Regions from separate parts of the Homo sapiens genome. Here region 1 is linked to region 2. Evidence: promoter capture Hi-C in 16 types of primary human blood cells and fetal thymus (Javierre and others, 2016). All regions are on one chromosome and are shown on one strand. Each heading gives the region's core, a stretch centred on a gene start or on the middle of the fragment in contact. The rest is flanking DNA. Distances are from core to core; before and after follow the strand shown. Region 1 holds the start of TMEM105 (TMEM105 long non-coding RNA). Region 2 has its middle 3.6 kb from the start of ACTG1.

Region 1 (4,481 bases), core at 1,570-4,069, 180 kb before region 2:
TACAGGCGTGAGCCACCGCACCCGGCCTATGCTCCACTTTTTGAGAGGCCAACAAACCCCACTTGCTTTTTCAATCCAGATTTTAACCTTTGAGGGAAAAGAAAGATTTTTGTATCTATTCCTGGGCCGGGGTAGGGGGGCTGTTGGGTGAGGAACACCCAAGAACGGCTCAGGTGAGAGGGGTGGCCTCTAAGACCACATGGCCTGGACACAGCCTGGCAGGCAGACCGAAGCAGCCGGGGCTGCCTGGAGGGCCTCAGTTCTGCTCCTCCCCAGCTGCAGGATCTGAGCAGGAGGCCTCCTCACTCTGCGCCTCAGTTTCCTCATCTTTATCTGGGGACGGAGCAGCCTCTACCTCTCAGAGCTAGTTGCGATCATGGTGGCAGCTGAGGCCCAGCCCTGGTATGCAGTGAGGGTTCAACTGAGCCAGCCCCCACTCGCCACAGGCTTGCCTGGGGAAGACAGGTGCATCAGCCCCGGGGTCCATTTCGCAGTGGGGCTGATCCCAGCCCACCCTCACCCGCCCGGGAGCCTCGCCCTTCACCCCATGCATCTTCTCCCCTGAATCACCCCCAGGGTCTCCAGGGCAGGAGCAGGGCTGGCAAGGGCAGGGCTCACAGCCCCATAGGGAGGACACAGTGCCCGCAAGAGGGACTGGGCAAGAGGTGGACAGGCAGGGGGTGGGGGCATTCTGTGTGCCCCAGAGCCTGAGTTCGCAGGCTCTCAGCAGCCCGTGCTGGGCAGCAGTGTGGGCGTCTCTCCCGCAGGGCACCCTCTGCACTTTCCTGCAGACCTGCAGCAGCCCTTTCCTGAGGGACACCTGGCTCCGGGCCCAGGGTGGGGGCGGGGCCTCGCGTGTCTCCCCCTTGATTTGTAAGAGTCCAGGGCTGTCGGCCATGGCCACACTGAGCACCCCTGGGAGCCAAGGCAGCTTAAGGACAAGGTGTGTATGAGGACGGCGGGGCCCAGGGAGGAGAGGCTAGCCCAGGGCTACCCGGGTCCCCGGAGTAGGGGCAGGGGACTTGAAAATGAGCCCCCAAGGGGCTCTGATGGGGGCAATTCCAGGAGAGGCGTGGGCAGGTGTGGGGCTGGAGAGAGGCCTGTCCTTTTTCCCTTGCCCTGCACACTGTCTGCAGGGTGGCAGACCCAGGCTGCCTGGCGAGGCTGCTTCTGGAGGCCTGAGGAAGGCTGGGCTGAGGACTCCGCCTCTCCTCAAAGCCACAGCCTCCCTGCTCTGGGGCTACATGTCGGGAAAATCCCTGCCTGGGTTACCCCAGCTGGGGACTCAAGCTCTCTTTGGACCCTACAGAAAGAGCTGGCCAGCCCCCAGGCCAGAAGGGCCGTCCGTGACCCACAGATGGCCCCAACACACTGTAAAACACGCATGATTTATTTTAGTGTGTGTTAGAAAAATAAAGCCAACACATCAAGCCTGCAATTTCGCAGATACTAACACTTCGGACCAGGAAAAAAGAAGCCCATGACATGGCACAGCGCTGTGGAGCGAGCGAGATCTGGGATGCGTAGGCCTGGACGGCTGAGGCTTGGAAACCCCTCCCCTCCCCAAACTTTCCCACCATGCAGGGGCCCAGCAGGCCCTCAGCCCACTCACCCCGCCAGAGGAGGGAGGAGGGAGGAGGGTCCGGGCCAGGTGGGAGCTTCTCCCCGGAGGCCTGAGGCAGCTTCCCTCCTCTCCCAGGAAGGGGCTGGCCCAGGCCCAGCTAGGATGCTCCCAGCCCAGCTCCTACCCGCCGGGTCTTTCCCGTTTGTCAGGCAGGCCGGCAGGCTGGGCTGGTGACTCATGACTGGCTGGGCCATCTGCCCTGCACCCCTGCCCCGGGCGAAGTGAGAAACCTGACCGGGCTCCAGCACAGACAGGAAACCCCACCCCAGGGCCTGCAGTGGGACAGGTGTGGCCGCCCTCCACCCCCACACAGGCCTCGGGGAGGGTGTCTGAGGCCGGCCTGGCCCTCTCTGCAGCACTGAAACACCAGCTGCCTCTCCCCAGCCCGGAACTGGGGATCCAGTGTCCTCCGCACTGACCCCAGGCTCTGCTCTCCCTGGGAAGCACCCGCTTTGACAGTGGGGCCAAGGACTGGGGTTCCCACCCTCCTCTGCCCAGTGGACTTTGTGGCCCCAGGCAGGTGGCATCAGCTCTCTGGGCCTAAGCTTCTCATCTCTGCAGGGTTCATCAGCTCAACAAGCATTTGTGGGTTCCTGAGACCTGAAGGCTCCACTCCCCCACCTAAGCACACAACAGTCCAGGCACCACCCACATCTCCCTCTTACCTGGAGCAGAGGGGCGGGTGTTCGGAGCCTTGGGGCCCAGGGTCATTTGCACTGGAGGGGGCCAGGAACGCTCCCAGGAGTGTGGCAGTCCCTTCCTAGGGGGCCCCTCCTGGAGCAGCTGCCTTGAGAGCCCAGCCTACAGCAGAGCCTGGTGGGGTGGCCGGGCTACTGCTACCTGGCTTCACTGCTTTCTTCTGCCATTCCTCCCAGGCTACCCAGGAGGACGAGAGGGGCAGGGTACTGGCGGCAGCAAGAGAGAACCCGCCCAGGAGGGCCCAGCACGGGAACTCCAGCCTCCAGAGCCAGCAGAGCCACGGGAACAGGAGTTCCTCCTCACAGAGGAGGCGCTGTTGGAGGGCCAGGAGCAAACTCCCAGCAGAGCAAAATGCAGAGGTGACCAGCCCAGGGCACACCAGCCACTGAAAAACCCAACAGTGGGGGCTGCCGTGGGGATCCAGGGTTGGGGGACTCTCAGACGGCCCCCCAGGCTTGTCCCCATGCGTATTCTTTGAGCTGATGGGGACGCAGTGTTCACAGTCCTGACAGGAGGCAGGCGTGACCCCAGTCGGGGAGTGGACTTGGCCCTCTTCACACCCCCAGGGCAGAAAGCCCTGTTCAGAGGTACCAGGGAGCAGGCACAGGCCAGGGTCCGAATTCGTAACAAGCATCCGGGACTCCACATGACGCAGGTCTGAGAATCGATCCCGGGTTCCAGCCCAGCCATCATTTTCAGAGAATACGGGCCCTGTCCCGAGCCGCCAGCCATTGCCAATGGCTGCCCGGAGGAAGGGAGGAAGGGGTGCCCCCAGCTTGTGGAACCAACAAGGGCTTAATGGTAGGGCACGCCCAGGGGCAGACGCCAAGAAAGGAGAGGAGGGGGCGGGGGCTCCGGCCAGGGAAGCCGTGTCCTCTGCACCAGGCAGAACAGGGGGCTGGGCCGCCCTCAGCCTGGATCTGGCCAGGGCTGGGATGCCAGCTCTGAGAACAGGGCCCAGCCCTCACCTGCTTGGTTTGCCTCTTGCCAGGGGAAGGGGCTCAGGAAGGTTTCTGAGCTGCCCCATGCCCCTGCCTGGAGTTCCTGACCCTCGGGGGAAGCTGAGGCTACAGAGAGCACGAAGTGCAAAAGGCCTGGTGGTTGGACCCAGAGCCCCTGTCCCTGGGTCCCCGCTCCTCCCCACCACCCCGTCCCAGCTCTCCCACGCTCCCACGAGGCCACATCATCTTCTGCTCCTGCTGAGTTCCCCTTCACGCATATGAAAAGCAAATTACAGGAGGGAGAAGGCAAACCCGGGGTGAACGGGGGCCTCCTGGGACTCCTTGGACCCCCGGGAGAGCCTGTGAGGGCTTCTATGGGCCGACTGGGATCTCAGGAGCAAAATAGGGGCCCCTAGCCCACAGCGGAGGGCGACTCTAATCAGCAGAGATCGCCCAGCATGCCTTATCCTCAGCAGCTCAGGGCCACCTGTGGGGCAGGGGGAGGGGGCCTGGCCAGCTGGGTCGGCCGCCCCCGGCAAAGCCAGGGGACGCCAGGAGCGGAGCTGTGTGGTGCAGAGCAACTGTGTCCCAGGGGAGGGGGGGTCTGTCTCCGCTCCTCCCAGCTGCAGGCCCTGGGCAGCCGCAACCTCTCAGAGCCTGCCTGCCCCTCTCCTGAGGTCTGGATTTTGCCAGCACAGAGCAGGGACCTCAGCAATATGCCCAGCCTGGCGCAGGCCCAGGGCAGGCCCTCTATCCGCAGGGCATCCTCTGGTCTACAAGTTCTGTGACGACGTGGCTGGCACCAGGGTCTGAGGGCTTTGATGCTGGGGAACGTCCTTGCGCCTCTGCAGTAGATGTGAAAGTCTGTGGAGCCCGGGGACCTGGAGCAGGTGGCCTGGGTGGGGCTGCTGCCTTCTGGGCCAGGACCAGATTCCACTCCCTGGCTGGACAGCCCTGGGCACAGCGTTTAAACACCCAACACTTCAACTCTGCTCTGTGAAACGGGGATGATTCTAACAGTGCTGGATCACGGCATGGTTGGGAGGCTTGGGTGAGGTCATGTGTTCCATGATCCTGTCCACACGAAGGTCATGCAGCCTTGGGGGGCACTGGAGCGGCAGGTGTGGTTTTGGGGACCTGCCACGGGCCACAGCCCTAGACCAAGCCGGACCATCGGGACTCTTTTCCTGGAATTTGAATGCTGAGCCGAGGGACAC
Region 2 (4,420 bases), core at 44-2,543:
TCCCAGGGGTGCTGAGCGCCCCCAGGCCCAGAATCTCCGGGGGCCCGGGCAAGGCTGTCAGGTATGTTCCCTCCCGTGGCGAAGCCGGGGCTGGGCCTCCAACAGACCCACCCGGACTCGCGTCCCTGGGCAGAACCACACAGCCTGCTCGACCCCCGGGTGAGGACTTCCACTTGGGGGGTCCCAAGATGCGACGTCACACACCGAGGGACACGAGGCGGGTGGGGAATAGCCACAAGCCCCTCCATCCTGCGTTCACCCCACACTACGTTCTGCTCCGGGCCGGCCGGGGACCCTGCCCCTCCGGGTCTCTGGTCTCCTCCGAAGCTTCTTTGTCTAGGAAGTGCGGGGAGGTGCCGGCCCCGGGCGCGCGTCCCCGTCCCCCACCTTTCTTCCCCACGTTGCGGACCCGAGGCCGCCAGGGTCGTGGGGGCGGGGGCGAGGCTGGCGCCTCGAGACCCCCGGGTTCCCCGCCACCCGCAGGGCCTGAGCCGCGGGGAGGGGCGGGGAGGGGACGCCGCCGCGGGCCGGGGGTGGAGAGCGACTTCCTCCTCCGCGGCCGCGTCACGCGGCAGGGGTCAAGGTGTGGCCCAGGTACGCGGCGGGGGGCGGTGGCGCGGCCATATTTGGCGACTTCGGCGCCGCCGGAGCCCCGCCCGCCTCCGCCGGGAAGCCCGGCCCGGGGCAGCGCCATCCCCGCCCGCCGCCGGGCCTGAGTCACGGCGGGCGGGGGGCGGAAGTAACGGACGGGGGGCGCCCGCCCGGCGCTCCTGGCCTTATTTAGTCAAGGAGGCCGCCGATTGGCGCGCGGGACAGAGGGGCGGCGGCCGGGCAGCCTCGGGGCGTAGGAGTGGCCCGGCGCCTCCGAGGGGTCGGGGCGGGAGCCGGGCGTGGGGGGCCTCGGAGCCTGGGGAGTCCCGGGACCGACGGCGGCGGGGATGCGGGTCTGCCTGTCCCTGGGATGCGGGCGGGCGGGCAGGGCGAGGCCTGGAGCCCGCGGGGCGCAGGGGGCTGGACCGCGCGCTGTGATTTTTCTGTTTAGCAGCGGGGCCTCGCCCAAGGTCGCGCGGGGCCTGTCCTGGATATGCTCTGGGAAGCCAGTGGCGCAGGGCAGCCGCCACCCTTCTGGAACCAGTGCCGGAGAGGGCCGGGCAGCTGGGCCTGGGGAGGGGACCGCATGGATGGAGCTGGGGGTAGCTGGGCGGCCTCCGGAGCCGGGAGAGTCGGCAGCTGCACTTCCGCCAGAGGTGGGTGTGTCCTTCACATTTCAGGAAGGGAGACTTGGGGCCTGGAGAAGCGATGTGATTTTTCTTTTCTAGTTCAGTGCTGGTTTTGATGGCTTTTTATCATGACCTTGTTATGTCTTATTTTAGTTTCGGCCCATTTAGTGGATACGACAACAGTGGCCCAGGGAGGTATGGCAGAGCTGAGGCTTAACCCAGGGCCTGCGCCCTCCACGGCCTGCACTGCCCCACCTCCAGCTCCTTGCCCTGTTCCTCCCTCTGCACCGGATCAGCCCCCGGACTCTGGGTCACCTCCACACCAGTTGACAGGGCCCCCCAGTCCCCACCGCCAACCACCTGGCCGGCTACTTGTCAGACAGACATGGGGGCGTGGGCATGGGTCCCCACCCCTAGCCTTTGCCTCTGTCACTCTACCTGCCTGGAATGTCTACTTTTTCTTTATATTTTATTTTATTGTATTTTTGAGACAGTCTCATTGTCGCCCAGGCTGGAGCGCAGTGGCGCGATCTTGGCTCGCTGCAACCTCTGTCTCCGGGGTTCAAGCGATTCTCGGGCCTTAGCCTCCCGAGTAGCTGAGACTACAGGCGTGCACCACCATGCCTGGCTAATTTTTGCATTTTTGGTGGAGACAGGGTTTCACCATGTTGGCCAGGCTGGCCTGAACTCCTGACCTTAAGTGATCCACTCGCCTAGGCCTTCCAAAGTGCTGGGATTACAGGCGTGAGCCACCTCACCCAGCCTGGAGTGTCTCATCTTCCACCACTAAATGAAACGATGGACCCTGAACAGAAAAAGGAACAGTGGTGGAAGAACTAGCAAAGCCCACAGCCTTGAGTTTGGCCGTAAGTATCAAGGTTAATCTCTCAGTTATGGCAGTTGTCCCATGACCGTGTAAGATGCCAGGTTAGGGGACACTGGGAATAGAGCATTGGGAAACCTTCCCACTGTCTTTGCAACTTTTCTGTAAGTTTAAAGTTCTCCCATAATAAAAAGCTAACTTGAATCCAAGGCAAGCAAAGCTTCCCTACTCTCAGCCCACCTCCCTCTTCTCCCACACCCTTTTGGACAGATGAAATGCAAGGTGATGGCCCTGTTTCCTGAAGCTCTTTCCAGGGCCTGGCTGGCTCCCTTGGGCAGGTCTGGAGTGGGCTCTGCCTCTTCAGGAACAGTGGTCCCAAGGCTGGTCCCGGTGGGCAAGGCTGGTTTCCTGCAACTCGGCCTGGCTGCCTCTGAGTTTTGGCTCAAGGGACAAGGCCAGGGTCCCACACTTCTGTCTCCTGGCTGGTGCCCAGCTTGGGGCTTGGTTCTCCTGCCCCACTGCGCAGACTGAAGCTCAGAAGGCTCAGCTGGCTGCCCCCCACCCCACCCCTGCGGAGTCACTGGGCAGCTGGCTGTGAGTGGCCAGGTGCTGCTTGTTTGGTCCCAGGACCAGGTCTCTGCATGTGTTGTCCAATTCTCACCTGGTCCCCAGACCAGGTCTCTGCATGTTTTGTCCAATTCTCACCTGGTCCCCAGACCAGGTCTCTGCATGTTTTGTCCAATTCTCACCACTGGAGGAGAGTCCCAGACTGTGGAGTTTTCACAGGGAGGGAAACTGAGGCAGTCTCCTGGGTCAGGGTAATTAGCCAGAAACAAGGTCACATTCTGGGAGGTCAGAAGGTTCTGGAGGGCGGTGTGGGCACTCTACACGAGGGTTAGGGGCTTGAATGCACACAGACACTCAGGCCGAGAGTCCCTCAACCCCACTCCCCTGCCCCGCCCCACCCCCGCTGCTCCAGGCCTTCTGGAGACAGGATCCCTGTTGCAGTTTACCTGAGGCTCCCCATCCCCGCTGTGAGCAGGAACCAAGGAGGCCCCTGGAAGAGCCCTGAGCTGGGAGTCGGACACCTGGGTTCTGGGCCCGGCTCAGCCCTGTGCCTGCCACGTGACCTCTCTGTACCCCAGTTCCTGTCAAAAAAGAGGAGAGGGCTCTGCGATGTGAGATGTGTGGCCCATCAGGGGCTCTGAGGCTGCTTGCCCTCCCGTGTGGACAGGAAGTCTGGGGACAGGAGGCCGTCAGGTGGCCCAGCAAACCCCCCAGGCGTCTTGCCTGACACCCAGGGGCTCAGTTTTCGGTGATGAGTAAGACGTGCTCAGTGCCTCTGTGTGTCGTGTGTGAGACCTGAGACCAGGGTGCCTGCTCCTCCCTCTGTTCCCAAGGGCATAGCCCCAGGCCCGTTTGTGACCCTCCACTGGGCCCGAGAAGAAGGCTCCTTTCCCCAGGCCTCATTCCCCTGTGGCCTCCCAGAGCCGCACGGAGTGGGGAGGGTCTGCTCTCCACCTGGCCATTGTGGACCCCACCCCAGGAGCTCCGGCCGCCCCCCCCCCCTCCAGTCCCACTCCTTCCTCCCCAGAGGCAGCGAGGCCTGAAGTTTGTGTTTCCCCTCAGGGTGGTTCTTAGCTGCGGTCACAGATTGCAGGGGAGGAGCCAGAAACGGAGATGAAACCGAGGAGCCCCCACCCTCTTCACAGGGCTAAAGCCAGAAACCACCGTCCCAGGCCACAGCCTGCCTCATGTGGCCATGCCTGCTCCCTGGCAGTGCGCGTCCTGCAACCCTTCCCACCCCAGGGCCTCGGCTTCCGCAATGAATCCCCATGTTTCAAATCCCCGCTGCTCCCAAGGCTACCTGCTGCCTCGGGGTAGAATCTAAGCCCCTTCCCCTGGTGCTGGAGGCCCACAGAGTGGGCGCTGCCTGTCCCTCCACTCCTTCAGCGCCCTGACCACCGTCTGGCTGTTCCTTTGCCCCCAAAGCTGTCCCACTGGCTGCCTCCTCCTGGCATGCCCCCATGCCACCCACGACCTCCCATCAACTCCTATTGATTATTAGCTTCTTTCACCCACTCTCTGCCCTAGAGCATTGGTTCTTGGGGCACAGCATCCTTGTCCTCCACAGTGAAGCTGGTGCCCCTGTACCTGGCATAGCCCCTGTACCTGGCATAGCCCCTGTACCTGGCATAGCACCTGCCCAGCAGCTGCTCGTGCAGGAAGCCCAAGTAGGGGTGGAATAGAGAGGGAGGAGTTCCCAGCCCTGGAGGAGGGAGCGCAGAGGAAGGCTAGGCCGATTCGCAGCTGCCTCCTATCTCAAAAACGTGGAAGGGGCTATAACTCTAGGGCTGGGAGGGAGGGGAGTCGTTTT

Evidence for each region. The method cuts DNA at HindIII sites, captures the fragments that hold promoters and counts their contacts. A CHiCAGO score of 5 or more calls a contact.
Region 1: a contact is called between the fragment with the promoter of TMEM105 here and a fragment that was not itself captured in region 2, in 2 of 17 cell types (endothelial precursors and monocytes). The highest score is 6.1, in endothelial precursors.

Annotation. Positions count from the first base shown.
Region 1 is chr17:81,327,855-81,332,335 of GRCh38, forward strand. TMEM105 (TMEM105 long non-coding RNA) reads right to left here and starts at 2,820. Exons shown (of 3, transcript NR_165247.1): 1 at 2,290-2,820. RefSeq lists enhancers at 589-1,160, 1,161-1,732, 1,733-2,302, 3,446-4,016, 4,017-4,481. The HindIII fragment of the contact is 4,997 bases long and covers 2,168-4,481 here.
Region 2 is chr17:81,514,160-81,518,579 of GRCh38, forward strand. It overlaps a transcript of FSCN2 not described here. Among named protein-coding and RNA genes, the nearest start is that of ACTG1, 3.6 kb to the left of the region's middle. RefSeq lists silencers at 1-65, 286-1,005, 1,076-1,125 and enhancers at 888-1,511, 1,512-2,137, 2,246-2,295, 2,762-3,387, 3,016-3,255 and 1 more. The HindIII fragment of the contact is 1,936 bases long and covers 326-2,261 here.